Regions from separate parts of the Homo sapiens genome. Here regions 2 and 3 are each linked to region 1. The links are contacts of gene promoters, found by promoter capture Hi-C in blood cells and fetal thymus (Javierre and others, 2016). All regions are on one chromosome and are shown on one strand. Each heading gives the region's core, a stretch centred on a gene start or on the middle of the fragment in contact. The rest is flanking DNA. Distances are from core to core; before and after follow the strand shown. Region 1 holds the start of FGF18 (fibroblast growth factor 18). Region 2 overlaps FBXW11 (F-box and WD repeat domain containing 11). Region 3 overlaps FBXW11 (F-box and WD repeat domain containing 11).

Region 1 (3,615 bases), core at 482-2,981:
AATAGTAACAATATAGAAAATTGGAAGCATGATTCTTAGCCAGGAGATACTTCAAACTAGCAGATGGTAAGCCAAAAACTCCTCGACTGGGTTTGTCAATCTTCCTATAAAGCAAGATCAAAGACGGCGGCAATGACTCGGGTCATCGGTGGGAGCATTTCTGTCCATTTCTATTTATGGTTGGTCATTGCATCCTATCTTGGGATCGATTCATTTTCTCCAGAACTTGGGAAGTTACGAGTAACTCTGCAAGTCCAGCTCTGGCAATCAGAATGTCTAAGTAAATTCAGCTTAAAAGCTTCATGCAGGAATTTTCCCCCTCAGCACCTGGTTTTGAAAAGGTTTTCTGCACTTGTGTCCGATGTTGAAACAGAGGCTATCTGTTTAAAATAGCCTCAGCTTTGAAAGGGAACTTAAAATAGCTTGCAAGGAGGCCTGATATTTGGAACAATTACTAATGTTTTATAGTCATGGCTTCAGCAAATAGCACTGTTCGACAGTCCTACCTCAGTTTATGCTCCAGTGGACCATCAACCATTGCCAACGCAAGGAGGCTTTAACCAAATAGTCCAGATTCCTGAGTTTTGCTTGAGCCTGTCCTCCAGCGTCTTTCTCACTGTGACCTATTTTCCTTAGCATCAGGCTCAAGCAGAGCTTGGCTGACACCAGCTCTAGACAGTGAGGCAGGTACGTGACAAGAACACCTACGTTTTGGGGTTGGTGGGAAGGACAGGAGTTATGCCTCTGGAAGGGGCAGAGGCGGTAAGAACCAGTGTCCTGAATGGGGCCCTGGTTAAAGGAACGAAGCTGCCTAGTATGCAAACGGAGGCAAGTCTTAGTCCGGTTTTGGGAGGAGGCCGGAAGAGGGCCTCAGCGTGGTCGCTGACCAGAGTCCTGCTGGCTGCTCCCCGGCGTGCAGCCGTCCGTGCTGGGGTTGCAGTGACGTCTCGGGGCCGCTTGGTGGTAGCCGTGTGTTTCCAAAGCTGGCTCGCCTACGGGAGAGTCCAGCTGGGATCCCGTGAACCGACCCCAGAGCCCCGGAGGGGGCGAGGGGTGGGAAGGAGAGATGCCCGGGAGCCCCCTTCGCAGCGGCAGGGACGTAAGAAGAGGACGGGGGCTCACTTAAGTGGGTAGCCAGTCAAGAGGGTGGCTGGGAAACTCCACGATCGCAGGGCGGGTAAAAGCGACCCCCATTCAGTGGAGCCGCCCCGGGGCTGGGTTTGACCCGCCCCTCTCGGCTCTCCACTAGAGCGCTGGTGAGTGAGTGCGAGTAGCGAATGTGGGCAGGTGAGGACGTTCCGTACCTAACTGCGTTCTTGGGGAGCATCGCCTGCCCAATTTGGGCAACGTTTGCGCGGAGGAGCGGTCACTGCGCTCGGGCGCAGAGCTCCGACGGCTTCCAGCGCTCACCAGCTTCAGTCTCGCGGGTCCTGCCCCTTTGGAGCTGCCGGTCCCGTCTCCGAGAGTCTGAGCGCCTCCCCTCCAACCCCGAGCCGCCAGGAGAAGGAGGAGGAGGCAGCGAGAGGCCGCGGCAGGCAGGCGAGCAGGCAGGGCCGCCTTTGATGTGGGCTGGGCGCACCCAGGCGAGCTGAGCGCCCGTCCGGCCGCGCCCCGAGGGGGGAGCCCCCAGGCCCCGCATCCTCATTGTGCCGGCTCGGGCCCGGGCCCGCCCCCGGCCCCCCGCCCCCTCGCCGCCCGCGCGTAGAAAACGCCCCGGCCGCCGCCAGTGGTGGGAGGCGGCGATGCGCACGGCCGGAGAGACGCGGAGGAGGAGACATGAGCCGGCGGGCGCCCAGACGGAGCGGCCGTGACGCTTTCGCGCTGCAGCCGCGCGCCCCGACCCCGGAGCGCTGACCCCTGGCCCCACGCAGCTCCGCGCCCGGGCCGGAGAGCGCAACTCGGCTTCCAGACCCGCCGCGCATGCTGTCCCCGGACTGAGCCGGGCAGCCAGCCTCCCACGGACGCCCGGACGGCCGGCCGGCCAGCAGTGAGCGAGCTTCCCCGCACCGGCCAGGCGCCTCCTGCACAGCGGCTGCCGCCCCGCAGCCCCTGCGCCAGCCCGGAGGGCGCAGCGCTCGGGAGGAGCCGCGCGGGGCGCTGATGCCGCAGGGCGCGCCGCGGAGCGCCCCGGAGCAGCAGAGTCTGCAGCAGCAGCAGCCGGCGAGGAGGGAGCAGCAGCAGCGGCGGCGGCGGCGGCGGCGGCGGCGGAGGCGCCCGGTCCCGGCCGCGCGGAGCGGACATGTGCAGGCTGGGCTAGGAGCCGCCGCCTCCCTCCCGCCCAGCGATGTATTCAGCGCCCTCCGCCTGCACTTGCCTGTAAGCGCCCGCGCGCGGGGCTGCCCACCTTGCCTGGCTGTCTGTCCGTATGCCTGTGCCCTGTACCTCTGTCTGCCCGCCCGTCGGTTCACCTGACTCTTCGACTGCGTGTCTGTCTGTCCGTGCGCCCCCTTCCTCAGGTCCCACTGACCGCTTCTCCATCTGTTTCCCGCAGGTGTTTACACTTCCTGCTGCTGTGCTTCCAGGTACAGGTACGTGGGCTCCTGACTTTGACCTCCTCCCGCCCCTGCCTCGCGGTACACGCCGACCCCCCTTCCCCGGCCGCGCCCCCTCCCTGTGCCCCACCCCTCCTGGGCGCTGAGCCCAGTGCACCTGTTCCCAGGGCGCGGAAGGGCGGCTCCGCGTGCGCCCTGCGCCGGCGGGGAACCGGCCAAGGGCAAGGGGCTCTGCCGCGGGGCCCGAGGAGGCGCTGGCTGTCGCGGCCACTGTCGGCCTCGGCTGGGAGGAGATCCCGCAGAGCCGGCGGGCTCAGCCGCAACAATATACCCAGCTCTAAGACCCCTGCCCGCAGCCAGCGAGGGGTAGGACCTAGGGATTTTCTCTGCCAACCTTCCCTTAACATCGCCGCTTCCAAACAAAAAGACTTTCAGCCGAGTGGATTTCGAGTCCAGGGAGAAAGCTTCAGTTGTAAATTACTCTGTGGTTTTGAAGGCGCTTGCAGCACTGAGACACACACACAGACACACACACATGCCCGGGACGAGGGGAAGCTCGAGGGCGCCTAGGCCGAGTGGCCGCTGCCCGCGAGGCCGCTCCCGGATGGGCCGCGCTCCGCACTCCCTCGCCTAAGGTGGTGCAGCCCTCGTTGGTTCCCCGCCTGCTCCCGGTTCGCTCGCTCTCCGTGAATCAGAAGAGGGCTTGGCGCTCGGCCTGGAAAGCACTTGCTAAAATCTGATCTGTTACTTCAGCAGCTTTCAGACTCGGGAAGGTCTTGGCACGCAGACAGTTGGAACGCTCTGGCTTCCAAAGCCGTAGAAATGAAGGAAAAAGGGTTGGGGGGAGGGAGAGAGAAGAGCGAAAAAGGGAGCCGACTTCAGCCCCGATTAGAACCAGACCAGGGCTGCCTCTGCATGGTGGGGGTCGGGGGGCGGCGGGCAAAGGGAATAGGAAGCGTCAGCTCCCCAAGCCCCCACCCACCTAGTGCTGCAAGGGGCCAGGCCAGGAGGAACTGGACACAGGTCAAAAGAGGGTTGTCTGACCCTTCCCCCTCGGTGGAAGGCAGGTGGCTTTCCGGGATTAGAGAAGATTCTTAGACCTTAGCCTTCTGGATTGTGGAGA
Region 2 (3,615 bases), core at 350-2,849, 540 kb after region 1:
GGAGGACAGGGCCCAGCCAAAGACCCGTTTGCTCAAAAGGGCCCCTCTTGGTACTAACTCCTCCATGTGGGGCACCCAGGCTGGAGGAAAGCAGAGGGTTACACAGAACATTTAGCAGACTTAACATTGGATTAAACACACTACTGCAAGTTTCAACAAATGTTCATGGCATACGTAAAAACACATTTACAACAAGAAAGAAGAGAGGCACCTGGAGACATCTGACACTGGGCATGCTCTGCAGGCAACTCAGTGCGCACATGCTCTCTACCAGGTTGGCGCAGCCTAGCCACAAAGACCTTGGCACAGAACACTGCAGGATGACAAAAAGGAAGGAAGAGAAGAAGCAGTTAGAGGCCGCAACAAATCACTCCTTCACACAGGCAACTTGAATGTTAGTTGGGGCAGGGGGTGCACCCTTGGCAGTTTGGAGGTTAGGGATGGTCCCAGACAGCTCACTGAAACCTTGGGGGAGGGCCCACTTGATGTTCTATGGAAAGGAGGTTTCTGCTGCCAACCACTAATTTCTCAGGGTACAGTGAATAGAATCAAGAGGGACAGAGAGAATGTTTAAACAAAAACCCACCAAAGGGAACTGTGAAAGTTTGAGTGCAAAACAAGATTAGTGGTGAGATTGTCGACTACAATTTCATCAGTGCCACAGTTTCTCGTCTATGTCACATAACCATAATTGTCATCGTTGTTTAAGAACCTACAAAACCACAAAAAGTGCTATTTGCCCAGCACTTTACATTTGTTCTCTAATCCTCATATCATTGTAAGGAAACCGAGGCTCAAAGGTTAAGTGATTCGCGCAAGGACACACAACAAAGGAGGGGAGAGCCAGAATTTCAAACTTTGGTTTGTCTGCTACCAAAACCCACATTCTTTCCACAAGACTATGATGCTGCTATTGTGAAAACTTATATCACCCCAACTTTTATCATGTGAGTAAAGTTTTGCACCTCCCTAAGGTAAAATCACAGGAGACCTAAAGAATAAGGCAAAAAGAACAAGAAAGATGGGTGACAGACTGATAGATAAAGGCAATAAAAGAGGTGATTTAAAATGCATGATTTTCAGTGTCATCACATCTCCACCTTCCCAAAGGAAAAACATTGGAACGTCATGATTTTCATTTTAGACTTTGTTTACAAAGTCCGTCTGACATGACTAAGAATTAAAAAGCTTATTTAATTTACCTCTTCGATCCTCTTTTAAAAGCTTGCTGATTTTAAAGGAATTAAGAAAAAAAGTAAAATATAAAATGAACATATGTACTACGGCTACTACTTAATAACCATTAGACCATACTGTAAAGTTAATAACCATTAGACCATACTGTTCAATCATTCAGATATAAAGTCAATTAATTTACTATGGCAAAATCAATACTCATGTAACAAAAATTAAAGGTGAGTGTTTGGGTTCAACCAAAACATCCCAGAAGTCTTGGACCCAAGCTCATAAACTTGTTTGTTCTAGCTATAATTAGAATAGCCAAACACCCTCATTTGCCTGAGATAGTCCTGGATGACACTTATTGTCCCCTCATAACTTTCACTCTCAAAAGTGTTCTGGTTTAGTGGATAAATTCTATTATCACCCAACTGCAATACAAACAAAGATAGCTTTGCTTGAAATCAGAGAGACCTGGGTTCCTATCTAGTATCTGTCACTTACTAGTTACAGTTCACCTATGATACACGGAATATTGAGATTACTTAGAAAAGGCATTTAAAGAATACAAAATCAGAGGAACCAAATGGAATAAAAAAATTGAGCAGCTTTCTGGTAGCAATGAAAATGACACACTTCCAAGGTGTGCCTTTATTCCAAAGCCAATACAGTGGCAATATATCATTGAAACTCCAGGTACACAAATTTTGTTGCCTCAACACTTTGCAGAGTACCAACCACAGAAGGTGCTGAATAAAATAATGAAATAAAATAATGAAAGTAGTTGCCATTTATCAAGCTTCTGTTATGTGCTAGACAGCTGAAATAGTAAACTCTCACAATAACCCTGTAAAATAGGTATTATTCCATTTTATGATGAGGAAACTGATGATCAGGAAAGAGATATCAAGCAGAGTCCCATGGAATTTTTTTTCCATTAAGAAAAAAATTTTTTTAATTAAAACAGAAAGGAGAGCCTGATTTGTTAAAACAGCAACACAGACCAGGAATGGTGGCTCACACCTATAATCCTAGCACTTTGGGAAGCCAAGGTGGTCAGATCACTTGAGGTCAAGAGTTGAAGACAAGCCTGGCCAACATGGTGAAACCCCGTCTCTACTAAAAACACAAAAATTAGCCAGGCGTGTGGTGGCACACACCTGTAATCCCAGCTACTTGGGAGGCTGAGACAGGAAAATTGCTTGAACCTGGGAGTCAGAGGTTGCAGTAAGCCAAGACCACGCCACTGCACTCCAGCCCAAGCGACTGAGCGAGACTGCCTCAAAAAAAAAAAAAAGAAAAGAAAAGAAAAGAAAAAAAACCAGCAACTTGTCCAAGGTGCAGGGGAATAAGGGCTAACTGATGGCAGAATTAGGACTAGTAAATTAAACCTGACAAGCTGATTTTCTTTCCACTACAACAAACACTCTCTATCCAGAGATATTCTTACACATGTTTAATAAAAGAATACTTACATCAGCATACATCACAAGTGGATGGGCAAAGAAGAGAGTTTAAGGACTACACCTAGCCAGGTGAGGTGGCTCACGCCTATAGCCCCAGCACTTTGGGAGGCCGAGGTGGTGGGATTACTTAAGCCCAGGAGTTCGAGACCAGCCTGAGCAACATGGTGAAACCCCACCTTTACAAATAATACAAAAGTAGCCAAGCATGGTGGTATGCACCCATAGTACCAGCTGCTCGGAAGGCTGGGGTGGGAGGATTGCTTGAGCTTGGAAGGTGGAGGTTGCAGTGAGCCAAGATCGCAGCACTATACTCCAGCCTGGGCAACAGAGTGAGATCCTGTCTCAACAACAACAACAAAAAAGGATTACATCTGGATTCAGCAACTAATATCAAATTAACACCAAAGCTCATACGTAAATCAATTTTTACTTATTCAGTAAAAAGTCAGGTTCCCTCTGCAAGGGTTAATAGTATTTGCCTCAAAGGGTAAAAACCATGAAAGCATAAGGTATTGATTAGATTCTGCTAATAAGTTGGAATCTAAAACTTTTTAAAAGGCAATTTTTCACATTCAGTAAATCAAAAAATCACAGATTGTGAGAACAGGAAGGCATTTTAAATACTATTTAGTATAACCTCGCACTGCTAATTTTAGATTAAGAGGTGAAGAAATTAAATCCAAATTAGAAAAACAATGATATTATCAAGGCTTTTTAACCATTTAATGATTTAATCAATACTCATAACAATGTGGAAAACAATCAACATAAAGAAAATTTTCAGTGAACTTGATTTTAAAACATTAGCCATTTATTAGAAGACTGATATTTCAAAGCTTTTTGAAGCTTGTTATTTAACTAGTATATTCAGGGAAAGATTTTTAAAAGACCCTCTGAGGGTCAGATTTCCAAGATTTTCTCTTCATAATATCTATGGTAGATACTGTAAGATATAAAGAATGATGCCAGT
Region 3 (3,615 bases), core at 630-3,129, 520 kb after region 1:
AGACAGAAATGTACCAAAAACCAGAAGAAATGTAATAAGAATTGACCTAACTCAAAAAATAAAAACAAAATTATAACAAACAAGAATACATTAAAATACCCCCAAAACAGATAAAGCAAATGAAAATTTTAAAAATTTGAAAAGTAGGTTGGGCACATTGCCTCATGCCTTGTAATCCCAGCACTTTGGGGGCCGAGGCATGCAGATCACTTGAGGCCAGGGTTCAAGACCAGCCTGGGTAAAATGGTGAAACCCCAACTCCACTAAAAATACAAAAATTAGCCAGGTGTGGTGGTGCACACCTGAAGTTACAGCTACTTGGGAGGCTGAGGCACAAGAATTGCTTGAACCCGGGAGGCAGAGGTTGCAGCGAGCCAAGATAGCGCCACCCTACTCCAGCCTGGGTGACAGAGTGTGACCCTGTCTCAAAAAAAAAAAAAAAAAATAGAAAATTATTAGGAAACATTGAAGACAAGCAAGAAAACAACCCAAGAGAATAAAAATGAGATGAAGAAATAAGCAATATGGGCAGTGAGAAAGTAGTTAACATGGAAAACAAAGGAGATCCAACCTAAATATAATTGGAGTTTCTAAAGAAAAAAATAAAATAAAAATAACCTTTAAAACTATAATCCAAGCGGTTCCTAGGGTTGGATGGGTGAGGGATATAGGGAATGACAGCCTAAGGGTACAGTGGTTTTTTTTGTTTGTTTTTTGTTTTGTTTTTGAGACGGAGTCTCGCTCTGTAGCCCAGGCTGGAGTGCTGTGGCTTGATCTCACTGCAAGCTCCGCCTCCTGGGTTCATGCTATTCTCCCGCCTCAGACTCCCGAGCAGCTGGGACTACAGGCGCCTGCCACCACGCCTGGCTAATTTTGTTTTTGTATTTTTAGTAGAGACGGGGTTTCACCGTGTTAGCCAGGACGGTCTTGATCTCCTGACCTCGTGATCTGCCCACCTCGGCCTCCCAAAGTGCTGGGATTACAGGCGTGAGCCACCGCGCCCAGCCGGTAGCGTGTTTCTTTTGGTGGTGATACAAATGTTCTAAACTGACTGTGGCACTGGTTATACAACTCTGTGACTATACTAAAAATCACTGAATTGTACACTTTAAATGTGTAAATTTACAATATTTGAGTTATGTCTCAATAAAGCTGTTATTTAAAAAGAAAAAAAAACGATAATTCAAAAAGCTTTCCAGAGATAAAAGGAAACCTGAACTACATGTTGAAAGGGGCTCCAGGTAATAGGGGAAACTGGCCCACAGCAATAAACTCCAAGAGATATCCTAAGACAATTGTTAGACTTTAAAAATAAAGAAAAAATGTTTTCAATCCCCACCCCAAATTTTTTTTTTAATTTAAGAAGAAACCTTTAAAGAGAAAGAGCATTAATTGGATTGGCATCAAACTTCTCGAAACAACACACCAAGCAAGGCATCAGTGGAGCAGCATCTTCCAAAATTTTAGAAAATAAAGGGTAAAGGTTTCCTTGAGTAATCCTGAGATGATGCAAAAAATTGTCAAAAAAATTAATGGTAAACATTTAAAACAATTATGGCTCTAAGAATAAACAAGTCTGAGCCAGGTGTTGTGGCTCGCACCTGTAATCTCAGCACTTTGGGAGGCCAAGGCGGGCTGATCACCTGAGGTCAGGAGTTCGAGACAAGCCTGACCAATATGGTGAACCCCCATCTCTACTAAAAATACAAAAATTAGCCAGGCATGGTGGCGGGTGCCTGTAGTCCCAGCTACTCGGGAGGCTGAGATAGGAGAACTGCTTGAACCTGGGAGGCAGAGGTTGCAGTGAGCCAAGATTGTGCCACTGCACTCTAGCCTGGGCAGCAGAGCTAGACTCCATCTAAAAAAAAAAAAAAAAAAAAAAAGAATAAAACAAGTCTGAAGATAACAGAAGAATCACATGTCATATTCAGACAAAGAAATAACACAACTTTAAAACTGCAGGCCAGGTGCAGTAGCTCATGCCTGTAATCCCAACACTTTGGGAAGGCAAGATGGGAGGATCCCATGAGCCAAGGAGTTCAAGACCAGCTAGGCAACACAGCAAGACCCATCTCTTAAAAAAATTTAAAAATTAGCCAGATGTGGTAGCCCGCACCTGTAGTCCCAGTGACTTGGTAGGCTGAGGCGGGCGGCCCCAATCACTTGAGCCCAGGAGTTTGAGGCTACACTGAATTATGATCATGCTACTGCACTCCAGCCTGGGCAACATAGTGAGAGCCTGTCTCACCAAAAAAAAAAAAAAAAACAGGAAATAGAGGCATTACAAAAATTATAATTAAAACTAACAAAAATACAAACCTCTCTATAAAAAGAAATTTCAAAAATAAAAGAGCAAAGAAAGCACATCATGAACAGAAACAAACTAAAAGAAATGCAGAGAGACATGGATATAAATACACTATACACACTACTCTCACTACAAGACAGCTCAAGAAAACAAAAAATAAAAATTCATAAGCATCAGTAAGGCAGGCAGGTCTTACAGGATATGATAACCTGTTTACACAGACTAAACTTGCTTTTCCAGCACGTGTAAAAAATTTCTGAAAGCTTATCATATATTAGATCACAAAGAAATAAGTTCAATAAAAAAGAAAAATTAGAAAATAAGAGCCTCTGATCAAAAGATAATAAAACTAAAAGCAATTCCTAGAAAAAGAAGAACAATTCCTTCAATCAATGTTATGGAACAATTTATAGAGCTTCTGGCCCATTTGTTCTTTAAAGGTCTGGTGGAATTCTCTGTGAATCCACACTGACCTGATACATTTTTCTGATTTAATTCTTTGACAGGTTTCTCTATTCTTTTCTTCATAACTATTGTTGGATAAGAGAACTCAACATTCGAAAGATGACAGTTCTCCCTAATTTATAAGTTTAACATTTCCCCAATAACCCCACAAGAAAATTCTTTATGGAGCTAGACAAAATGATACTCAAGTTCATATTCAAAAGCAAACTTACATGAGTATTCAGTAAAAAATACAAAAAAAGAAAAGTGGGGAATCAGTCCTACCAGACATCAAAATACACCATAAATAAGCCTCTCTACTGAAAAGCAAGATACTTTCATAGCACATGAATACACAAATACTCCAGAGTAGGGTTGGCAAGCTTTTTCTGTAAAGGGTCAGATGTAAATATTTTGAGCTTTGCAGGACTCACTGATTTTGTCACAACTACTCAACTCTTCTGTTATAGGATGAAAGCAGCCACAGATGATATGTAAGTGAATGAGTGTGGCTGTGCTCCAATAAAACTTTATTTATAAAAACGCAGTGGGGGCCGGATACAGTGGCTCACACCTGTAATCCCAGCATTTTGGGAGGCCAAAATCATTGAGCTCAGGAGTTCAAGACCAGCCTGATCAACATGGTGAAACCCCGCCTCTACTAAAAAATACAAAAATTAGCCAGGCATGGTGGCACACGCCTGTAGTCCCAGCTACACAGGGGGCTGAGGTAAGAGGATCACTTGAACCTGGGAGGTTGAAGCTGCAGTGAACCATGATTGTGCCACTGTACTCCAACTTAGGTGAGAGAATGAGACCTTGGCTCAAAAAAAAGCAAAAAAAAAAAAAAAAGGAAAATTTAA

What was found. The method cuts DNA at HindIII sites, captures the fragments that hold promoters and counts their contacts. A CHiCAGO score of 5 or more calls a contact.
Region 2: a contact is called between a fragment that was not itself captured here and the fragment with the promoter of FGF18 in region 1, in 2 of 17 cell types (M2 macrophages and M1 macrophages). The highest score is 6.0, in M2 macrophages.
Region 3: a fragment that was not itself captured here is called in contact with the fragment with the promoter of FGF18 in region 1 in 3 of 17 cell types (M2 macrophages, M0 macrophages and M1 macrophages); the score reaches 7.5 in M2 macrophages.

The regions. Positions count from the first base shown.
Region 1 is chr5:171,417,916-171,421,530 of GRCh38, forward strand. FGF18 (fibroblast growth factor 18) reads left to right here and starts at 1,732. Exons shown (of 5, transcript NM_003862.3): 1 at 1,732-2,316; 2 at 2,492-2,528. The coding sequence starts at 2,285. RefSeq lists silencers at 1,569-1,678, 1,799-1,908, 2,049-2,098, 2,159-2,238. The HindIII fragment of the contact is 2,658 bases long and covers 297-2,954 here.
Region 2 is chr5:171,957,386-171,961,000 of GRCh38, forward strand. FBXW11 (F-box and WD repeat domain containing 11) reads right to left here. Exons shown (of 14, transcript NM_001378974.1): 2 at 212-313. Among named protein-coding and RNA genes, the nearest start is that of FBXW11, 47 kb to the right of the region's middle. The HindIII fragment of the contact is 754 bases long and covers 1,223-1,976 here.
Region 3 is chr5:171,934,250-171,937,864 of GRCh38, forward strand. All of the region lies in intron 2 of FBXW11 (F-box and WD repeat domain containing 11), which reads right to left. Among named protein-coding and RNA genes, the nearest start is that of FBXW11, 71 kb to the right of the region's middle. The HindIII fragment of the contact is 1,380 bases long and covers 1,190-2,569 here.